Regions from separate parts of the Homo sapiens genome. Here region 1 is linked to region 2. Evidence: promoter capture Hi-C in 16 types of primary human blood cells and fetal thymus (Javierre and others, 2016). All regions are on one chromosome and are shown on one strand. The core of a region is centred on a gene start or on the middle of the fragment in contact, and the rest is flanking DNA. Distances in the headings are between cores, read along the strand shown. Region 1 holds the start of LOC124902546 (a long non-coding RNA gene). Region 2 holds the start of CSTF2T (cleavage stimulation factor subunit 2 tau variant).

What was found. Contacts are between HindIII fragments. The CHiCAGO score rates a contact against its expected background, and 5 or more counts as called.
Region 1: a fragment that was not itself captured here is called in contact with the fragment with the promoter of CSTF2T in region 2 in 1 of 17 cell types (fetal thymus); the score reaches 9.4 in fetal thymus.

Annotation. Positions count from the first base shown.
Region 1 is chr10:56,360,855-56,366,305 of GRCh38, forward strand. LOC124902546 (a long non-coding RNA gene) reads left to right here and starts at 605. Exons shown (of 2, transcript XR_007062372.1): 1 at 605-1,002; 2 at 3,171-3,865. ZWINT (ZW10 interacting kinetochore protein) reads right to left here and starts at 405. Exons shown (of 9, transcript NM_007057.4): 1 at 342-405. The coding sequence starts at 382. RefSeq lists enhancers at 115-854, 203-372 and a silencer at 463-672. The HindIII fragment of the contact is 1,210 bases long and covers 2,925-4,134 here.
Region 2 is chr10:51,696,698-51,701,733 of GRCh38, forward strand. It overlaps CSTF2T (cleavage stimulation factor subunit 2 tau variant), which reads right to left and starts at 2,898. Exons shown (of 1, transcript NM_015235.3): 1 at 1-2,898. The coding sequence starts at 2,852. The coding sequence ends at 1,002. The region is part of intron 3 of PRKG1 (protein kinase cGMP-dependent 1); the gene reads left to right. RefSeq lists enhancers at 2,586-3,165, 3,290-3,978 and a silencer at 3,732-4,026. The HindIII fragment of the contact is 5,025 bases long and covers 1-3,910 here.

The sequences.
Region 1 (5,451 bases), core at 2,280-4,779, 4.7 Mb after region 2:
ATTAGGGACTGGAGCAATCTACGAAGGGGCAGGGATGGGGATGAGAAGTGACTGGGAATGTGTCGTGTTGGGACAAGAAGACAGAAGTGAAACCGTCTCCTAGAGCACATCCTGTGGATTATGTGGATGTGGGGAGCGGCGAACGGTCCCCCAAAGGCTGTACTCCTGGAGCAGGCAACAGACACCTCAGGAACCTAAGACGGGACTGCGGTGAGGATCACTTCACGGCAGGGTCGAACCTCAACAGCTGTACAGGGTCGAGGGCACCAATCATTACACATAGGGGCCCACAAGGTCCTCCCAGGCCCGGCCCCAGCTGCCACTTAGCCGCAAACACTTACTCTAGGGCTGCAGCTTCCGCCTCTGTCTCCGCTGCCTCCATCTTTCCAGGCGCCGAGTTCAGCTGCCTTCCCACAATCCCTAAGATTACTTTGAAGTCACAGTCGACTTCGCGCCGGGGCAGGCGATTGGCTGCAGAGGTTAGTGGGCGGGCATCAAGGACCATTGTGCGCTCTAATTGGCAGGCGCGGATTCGCTCGTTGGCGGGCCTCGCTGCTTGGCGCAAGCGCGGTTATGGCTAGGCGCGCACGGGCTCTGCGCCTGCGCGCTAGTCCTTACGCGGTGCCAGAGACTATAAGTGGGCTTGAGCTCGACCGCGCGCCTGTGGAAGTTCTTTCTCTACTCGAAAAAGGGAAAGCATTTCCTTGAGTTTGCGTTTTAAGGGAAACTTACAGCATTGACACTTTATTTAAAATATTCACTACTGCTGTAGAAAAAAAAAAACAAAACCCCGAAAAACAGTGGGGCTGTTTCTAAGACGCTGGGAATCAGTAAAGAATAGTGATCCGGGAGATACAGGAAGCAAATGATCTGCGCTCAAAAAGCGAGCTGCTTTCAAAGATATTAGTATTTTATAGATGCGATGCAGGAGAGTGAACTCAAGCAGAGCCCAGCCGATTGCCTGCGTTGGCAAAATAGAACAGATATTCTGGGGAGACCAAGGTAGGTAATGTTCTTTGCAGAGTACAGGAGAAAGATAACTGCTGAGAGAGAACTTGGTATTCATTCAGCTGAGTACTGAGCAGTATGTGTCTCAAGAAACTAGCTAAAAGATTTTTAAAGATACCAGGACATGGCCGGTCGCGGTGGCTCACGTCTGTAATCCCAGCACTTTGTGAGTCTGAGGCAGGTGAATTACGAGGTCAGGAGTTTGAGACCAGCCTGGCCAACATGGTGAAACCCCCGTCTCTACTAAAAGTACAAAAAAAATTAGTTGGGCGTGGTGGTGGGCGCTTGTAATCCCAGCTATTCGGGAGGCTGAGGCAGGAGAATTGCTTGAACCAGGGAGGCTGAGGTTGCAGTTAGCCGAAATTGCGCCACAGCACTACAGCCCTGGTGACAGTGCGAGACTCCGTCTCACAAAAAAAAAAAAATACATATATATATATATATAAATATATATATATGGACATTACAGAGGGTCAGAAATAGTCTCTATTTCCACTAACCAGGCTGGAAAACTTCATAGTCCGTAGGACACTGGACAGAGTACACACAAAAAAGTCTTGATTTGATAGTTGTTTACTAATTATTTAGTAGGCAGTAATTAGTCCTAGCTGATCAGTGCTGTAGTGCCATCTAACTCTTAAAAGTAAGACCCAAATGGATCAAACTTAACAAACCATGACAGATGACAAGACCAAACTTCAGCAGTATTTATAGAAATAGAAAAATGTTCACCAAAGGTGCAATTTACATATGTCATACAAAGAAAAATTACCAAGCTTGCAAAAAGAAAAAAAAAAACACATAATGAGGAGAAAAATCAATTGCTGATCAGAACTGAAGTAATGTTAGAATCAACAGGCAAGGACATTAAAACAGTTATTGTAACTATATCCCATATCTTCAAAAAGATATCAGAACTATAATGAAAAAGGTAAGTGGTGCTAAGGATGTAAAGAAAGTGGAATTCTCATGTTGATGGAAATGTAAACTGGTGCATAGGCTTTGAACGTAGGGTTACCATATGAGTCACAATTTCATTCCTAGTTATATATCCAAGACAAATAAAAACATGGGGACACAAAAGTACACAAACCTCTATAGCAGCATTATTCACAAAAGCTGAAAGGTAAAAACAACCCAAAGGCCCATTAGCTGGTGAGTGAAAATGCATACTTTCATTCAATGAAGTATTAATCAGTAGTAAAGAGAACTTTATTACATGCTAAATAATGGTTACTACATGCTAAAATATGAACCTTGAAAATATACTAAGTGAAAGAAGCTAATTACAAAAGACCACATAATATATTATTTCATTTATGTGAAATGTCTAGATTTGACAAATCTATAGCAACAGAAAGTAAATTTATATAGTGCTTGTCCAGGGCTGGGGATTGGTGGGAATGAGAGGTTGAGAGAGTATGGGGAGGGACTGCAAATGGATATAGTGTTTCTTTTAAAGGGATAAATAAAATGTTCTACACTTCGGTTATGGTGAAGGTTGTACAATTCTATACAGAAAACCGCTAAATTTACACTTTACTGCTGTCATAAAAGCTGTTAAAAAAGTTAATCAAAGACACAAAGCTTGTAATAAAGACCTAAATCAAACTTGTAGAGGTGAACACTACAATGTGATAGATGGAATTAGATGGTATTAATATAGTATGTTACACATTGCAGAATGAAAGTGAAACACAGCTCTAGAGAAACTACCCAAAATCAATCACAACATTAAAAAATGAAAATAAAGTAACATGAACAAATCAATGGTGAGCTGTGAGACAACTTCTAACAGCCTAATAATATACTTGAAAGTGGAGTCTCAGAGAGGCAAGGGGAGAGGACAAGAAAACAAGTAATAAAGACCAAAAAATTTGAAATGTGATGAAAAATATAAATTCATATATTCAAGAAGCTTCACAAATCTCAAACACAAGAAATATTAAGAAAATGACATCAAGTTATACCATAATTGCATAACTCAAAACCATTGATAAAAAATTCTAAAGTAATAAGGGGTGTTGGGGCACATGTTACATAGAAACAAAGATAAGGATTACGGGAAATTTCTTCTTGGAACAATGCAAGCAAGACAGTAGAGTAACATCTTTCAAGTACTGTAAGAATAAAAAAAAGTCAACCTTGATTTCTGTTTCCAGCAAACAGCTTTCAAAAATGAAGACTAACTAGGCTGGATGCAGTGGCTCACACCTATAATCCCAGCACTTTGGAAGGCCGAGGTGGGCAGATCACGAGGTCAGGAGATCAAGACCATCCTGGCTAACACAGTGAAATCCCCCGTCTCCACTAGAAATACAAAAATTAGCCAGGCGTGGTGGCGGGCACCTGTAGTCCCAGCTACTCGGGAGGCTGAGGCGGGAGAATGGCATGAGCCTGGGAGGTGGAGGTTGCAGTGAGCCAAGATCGTGCCACTGCACTCCAGCCTGGGTGACAGAGCAAGACTGTCTCAAAAAATAAATAAAAATAAAAAAGAAGGCTAACTAAAGACATTCTTAAACACACAAAAATGGAAGGAAATTTTCAGCATAAGATCCCACATGAAACAAGAAGTTCTTCAGGCAGAATGAAAATGGCATTAGCTTCAAATCTGAATGTATACAAAGGAGTGAAATGTGGTCCTGGCTACTTAGGAGTCTGAGGTGGGAAGATCACTTGAGCCCAGTTCAAAGCTGTGATGAGTTGGTCATGCCATTGCACTTCAGCCTGGGTAACAAAGTGAGACCCTATCTTTAAAGGAAAAAAAATTGTGATGTGGGTTTTATAACATATGTAAAAGTAAAATGTAGCACAAAGTGTGGGAGAGAAGAAATAAAAGTAAATTTATATGCTTGTATAGTTTCTCTGAAGTTTTGTTATCAGTTGAAGGTGAACTGATGAGTTAAAACTGTGTTCTAGACTCTCTGAAGCAATAGTGCCAACACACTTTAGAAGGGCTACCAGTGAGTCATTTCCTTGTGTGATTTCTTTCTTTCTAGTGCAGATAGAAATTGTGACCAATAGAATACAATAAAGGTGATGGGATGTCATTCTATTGATTAGGTTGCTTGTTAGGCAGAGGGGATAGCATGCCACTCTCATGCCTCCATTTCCATGTATAGCAGAAGCTTAGCAGACTGCACAAAAAAAAGAGGGATTCTCCTTCTGGCCTGGAAGAAGCATACAACCATGTTGTAAGTTGCCTGTGGTAGTTATCACATGGCAAGGAACTCTGAGTGGCCTTTAGGACCTGTAAATAGACCTGAGCTGATAGCCAATGAATAGATGGGGCCCTCAGTCAAACAGCCCTGAGGGGATTAAGTTTCTACAAATAATCAAATAAAAAATAACGCTACTCAGTTAACATCGTGATTGAAAACTTGTGAGACCTTGAGCAGAATGCAAAACCTTGACCCAGTGAAACTGTCTTAAAATCTTGACTTGTAGAAACTGTGAGATAATAAATGTGTTTTTTTAAGATTCTAAATTGTGATAATTTGTTACATAGCAATAGAAAACTATTATAAACTTCTAAAACAAAGAATTGTAGGTAACAAATCAATAAAGGAGATAAAATATAAACAACTAATCCAAAAGAAGGCAGAAAAAGTGAAGACGAACAAAGAAAAAAATGAAGAGAATAAAAAACAAATAGCAAAATGATAGGTATAAGCCTAAGCATATGTGTTATCACCGTTAAATGTAAATACCTTAAATATACCATTAAAAGGGAGAGATTATTAGATTGGATACCACAGCAAAATTACGTTAAGTACACTAAATATAAAGAAATAAAAGGATGGAAAAATACCATGCTAATATTAATCAGATGAAAGCTGAAGTGGCTATTTTAGGGCATATATATACACACACACACACACACACACACACACACACACACACACACACATATATATGTATATCTATATATATATATCTATATATATATAGATATATAGATATACATATATATATTTGGGCAAAAGGCTGTCACCAGAAATAAGAAAGTGATATTATCATGATAAAGGGGTCAATTAATCATGTGAACTTAATCATAAATGTTTTTGGACACCTAATATGAGATCATCAAAATACATGAATCAAAAACTGAACTGCAAGGAGAAATAGATAAATCCATAGTCATTGTTGAGATTTCAATAAGCCACTTACAATAATTTATAGAACACTGAACCTAACAGCAGAATAGTCATGCTTTCCCAGTGTATACCCAATAGTCAAGTCCATATTATGGGTCATAAAATTAGCCTGAACAATTATAAATGAATAGTACAATGCAAAATATATAGTTTTTTTGTTTGTAAACGATCTAAATAGCCTCCTACATGCATTGAATGTGATGTTGTATGCTAATGTTGCAGTCTTTTTCTTTGACTTAATTAACTCCTAACATCTTTAGATTTCTGCTCAAATTTTTCAGACATG
Region 2 (5,036 bases), core at 1,648-4,147:
AAGTTAACTCCTGTCTGGTTGAGCAAATGGACACCATCTGTATACAAACGTCAGATACCAAGAAACTCAGATCTTTACTTAGTGAAACCTTCCACTACTTATGAAAAGTCAAATACCATTTATAACTCATCTAGATCAACCAGTCCCTAGACACTGATTTTTGGGAAGGATTTTTAGAGAATTACTGACTCAGATTTAGGGCTTAAAGACTATTGAGAAATAGGAAGGTATTGAGAGACTGGGTTTCATCAGAGCGGACTTAAGTAACCTGGTTGATCTTAGAATTGTCACAGCAAAATCATCATGCTCAGATGCTTGGGGCCTGGCAGAACCTTGCTGGTCTCTGAAGGATGGGATAAATGAAGCAACAGTAAATCAGGTGCACTCCTTGATTTTTCAGGTAACATAACTTTAGAAAAAAACAATTCTAATACAAGTGTAACCTTATCCTGTTAACTCTGTTTCAAAAATAATTCTAAAACACTAAGACAATGCTTATCCTATTGCCTCCAAAATAGGATTTTGTATTTTAAATGGTTTACCAAAAAATGTATCTTATACTTTTGGGTAAACTTTTATTTTGTTATACAACCAAAAATCTTAAAACTATCTTAGTACATTAACGTTTTAACAGGTCAACTTTTAGTCTTTATGAGCAGTTTTCACGAAGTTTTACTCGACATTTAAAAAATGTAGTTAACATACTGTAGATGCTTCAATATTGCTGCTTATTCTTTGTAATCTTATTTGGCATAATATAATCATGTTCAGAGTTATTTTAAAGTAACTTAAAGTGAACAGACGCACTCCCTCCTCCCCCCACCCTCAATTAAAAAAAAAAGGAAAACAGAAAGAAAGAAAAAGAACAAAAAATAAGATTAGGTTCTAGGAGGAGGGAAACCCTAATCCAAGTGTGGGGATACAGAAGTCAGCTTTTTGCACCCATTCTCCATGCTACAGAATAAAATTTGAGACTACAGCCAAATATTTTCTAAAACCTTTCAAGACGCTCCAGTGGATTTCTGGATTTGTTCCTTTAAAATCAGGATACTCTGCCTTTGCTCAGGGGGCAGCATGGCAATCTGATCTGCAGTCAGTTGAAGAACCTGCATGATCAAAGCTGCCTTCTCCTGATCCTGTGGAGTGACCTGGCTCTGCCCAGGACTAAAACTGCTAGGCTGGCTTCCACCTTGCTTGCTTGCCCCCTGTATACCTCCTCCTTGTATACCTCCTCCTTGTATACTGACTCCTTGTATGCCTGCCCCCTGCATCCCTCCTCCTTGTATGCCTGCTCCCTGCATGCCTGTTCCTTGTATGCCTGTACCCTGCATACCAGCTCCAGGATTCCCCACCCCTGAAATGCCTGGGACCTGTCTGGGTCCCTGAGGAGGGCCACCTGCCCCTATATTAATGGGACCAGGACCCTGAATTCCACCAGTCATAGGGCCTCTTGAACTGGGGACAGGGCCCCTCATCTCCAATCCTCTTGCATCCATGCCCCTTGCTTCCATCCCTCTGGTTTCCATCGCACAGGTCTCCATTCCTCTCCTCTCCATTACACGTGTCTCTAAGACCTCAGTTTCCATGGCACGAGTCTCCATCGCTCGAGAATCTCTACCACCTCTACCATCCATAGGTAGACCCCTTTGATCTATCATGGGGCCTCTGGGCTCTCCAATTAGCAGTCTGGGATCTCCTAATGGCCCTCCCCTCATCTCATGTGAGGAAGGGCCACGAGTGTCATGACCAGAGGCATGATGCATGGGGGGACCCTGATGGGGTGGACCCAGATAACCTCTGGGCTCCACTTCTCCAGTGACTGAAAGCAAAGTCCCTCCACGTGGGTCATTTGGAGCATCTCCTAACAGTCCTCGAGGAGGCAGACCACCAGGAGTCACGGGTCCGCGAGGTATAGGAGCTCTAGGATCTGACATCTGCACTTGTCCCCGCTCTAAAGGCACTGGGCCAACCCCTGGCATTCCAAGTTGGGGCTGCATTGCTCCTCCAGGAGTTAAGGAACCAGGACCAGCTCCGGGAACTGCAGCTGGTATTGGCCCTGGAGCTGGAATTCCACCCTGGATAGGAGTCTGCATCAGAGGAGGAATGTCCTTCACAGGTCTTCTAGCCAAATGCTGAGGCTGAGGAGCTGGAGGATTCTGCTGGTTCAGCAGAACATTAGGTCCTGGGCAGAGCCCAGGGCCAGGGCCAGGGCCAGGGCCAGAGACAGACACAGACTGAGATTTGCCTGGGATCAGTGGTGTGACATGTATCTTCCGATGCAGAATTTTCAGAGCAATCTCTGGATCCATGATTCTCATCACTACTTGTGCCTGCAACAGTGCATAAGCCAGTTGTGGATTTTGAAGTAACATGTTTCGAGCTTCCTGGTGGCTGTTTTGGACACAGAGCTTCATCTGCTTCATCAGCTCAAACATCTGCTCCGGGGGGAGACTGGCTACTGCTCTGGTAATCGATTCAGGGGCATCTTCTGGATCGATGGGATCCCCATAGGGTGAGTCAATAATGGGCGCTGCAGGCCCAAGGCTCTTTAACTCCTCCTTATTCTTTTCACTGGCAGCATTGTCCACCCGAAGCGCTCTCCCACTGAACTCCCGCCCATTGAGGTTCCGCATGGCACTAAGCGCGGTCTCCTGGTCTTGGTATTCGCAGAAGCCATAGCCCTTGGGTTTTCCCGTCTCTCTATCGTATACCAGCCGGAAACTGACAACAGAACCAACCTCCGAGAAAATGTCCTTTAACTGCTCCTCAGTTGCCTCATATGGAATGTTCCCCACGAACACGGAACGCAGTGATCGATCCATTGCCGGGTCTCTCACCGCCAAACTCGACATGATTCCGGTTGTGCAGACAGCCGATAGCGGATTCTTCGAGGCGTCTGTCCTCTTGCGACCGACACTTCCGCTGAGCAACGGAAGCGGCTTTCAAGATCCGGGCAGAAACTTTACTAATTCGCTTGAATCGTTCCGCTTGCCTGTGGAACCTGCATCCCACTAACAACTTATCTAATGCTTTCAGTCCCTGATCCTTCATGGTTCTGTCAGCTTCTTATTACAGAGTCGCATGATTCCTTTCCCATTTCACGTTCCGCTGACTTTCTGTGGGGCCCCAACAGCCCCACTACGACACGCTTGGTACGAGATGACCACAGTAAAGATGGCCGCATAGACTTCACCGTAGTAACTGGGAGGGGACTCTTCCCTTGACGTCAAAGGCGGTTTTGCTTCCGTTCCGCTGGCGGGAAACCGCCAACCGAAAGCGGATTTAAGGCGGCGTGTTTTTCGTTCTGACAAAGTATTTTCATGTGGCCTTTTATTATAGTATAGTTAAGCTAGATTTAAAATCACATTCCAGACTGAGGGAAAAGCGTAGTCGTTTCAGCACATTTGAGATTTGCCCCTTAAACTAAAACAGTATTATATCTCCTTTTTAGAACAACGTTTTTGGAAATTAACTGACAAGAAATATAAACTGAAGCGTGTGCCGGCTGGGCCCTGCCCCCATTCTGTTGCTTCCTATAACCGCTGTTAATGGATGGGTGGCAGACCCTTCTAGGTTTTTCCTGAGCACACGGGCAGCCGTCGTGCTATTCCTAATATTACGGTTTTCTTCCTTAATAACAACCGATTTCAATATTAATTGGTGATTAAATAAATTAGTGATTAATTAGTTATTAGTATTTTATGGCTTCAGAGTATGGAATAAAGAAATTTACTTAACTATCCCTACGTTGATTGGTTCTGATTTTTATTATATCATGCAGTGAGTCCACCACTTCCATGAAGGGAGAAACAAATAGCGGGTGTTTGTCTTCTGCTGTTAGCTTTGCAGGTAGGAGTTAAAACATATTCAGTGTGGTGTTTCCCCGCCTGCAATTCGAAGCTAGAACTGAAGCTTGGAGAGGGCTAGGTAAATTCCCAAGGACAAGCAGCTGGAAAGAGGCCAAGTCAGGATTCTAACCCAGCTTGGTCTCGCATAGCTCCAATTCTACACTGCCTTACGTGTATTGAATATATGAAATGAAGCTAGTGTGATTGAAGAAATGAATTTTAAATCTCATTTTTTATTTAAATATAAAAACTAATGTTCAGTAAGCTATTGGAAAACTTTTTTAGTATTTAGAACAACTTGGATATAGAATCTACTTTTGCAATAATAAATTGTGTTCTAAATAAAAATCATTTTGAAGAACACTAAGACAAAAAATAAAAACAAATAAAAAGAAAGTATTTCCAGTCAAAATTTAACATACTGGTTGAGGTGTGCCATACATGTAACATACATGAAAGATTTTAATGATCAAATACAAAAAAAGTAAAAATAGCCCATCAATTTTATATTTTTTATAAGTCGAAATGTAATATTTTTATATATTTGAGTAAAAAATTATTTTGAAGTTAATGTTATTCATTTCATTTTACTTTTTTAAATGTGGCTATTAGAAAATTTAAAATTATATGGATAGATTGCATTATACTTCTGTGGACTGGACTGCTCCAAGCCTGTGCTTTAATTCCAAAACAGAGAATTATTTTATTCTGAAATATGCCTCTTAAGTGGATTATGAAACTTTTAAATTTCAGCAAAAAAATTGTATTATGTATCTTCAGTATCCTATTCCAATGAATAGATTTGACATGAGTATGATGGTTTAGCTGCAAATAAGACATCCATTTACCTTCAAGTTTTTGAAACAGTTCTGCACTTAGCTGTTCACCCAAGATGCGCGACAGTTTATATTTGCAAGTGACAAGGTTCATTTACATCACCTAATAAGATTTTCCTGCTATGTCAAAGAAACGGAATAGTCACCTGCTAGCAATGTTTCCCCAGTGTGATTCTTTTATTGGGGACGAAAGGGGAGGGGTTAAGGATAGTATCATTTAAAAAAACTAAAGACAAATCTATTTTTCTTCCTTCTATACCATCACTTTACAAAGAGAAGGCATACCTTTTTTATACACATTCTGTCAAGGGTAACTTACAAGTTGAATATGTGTGTAATTGTGTGTGTATTA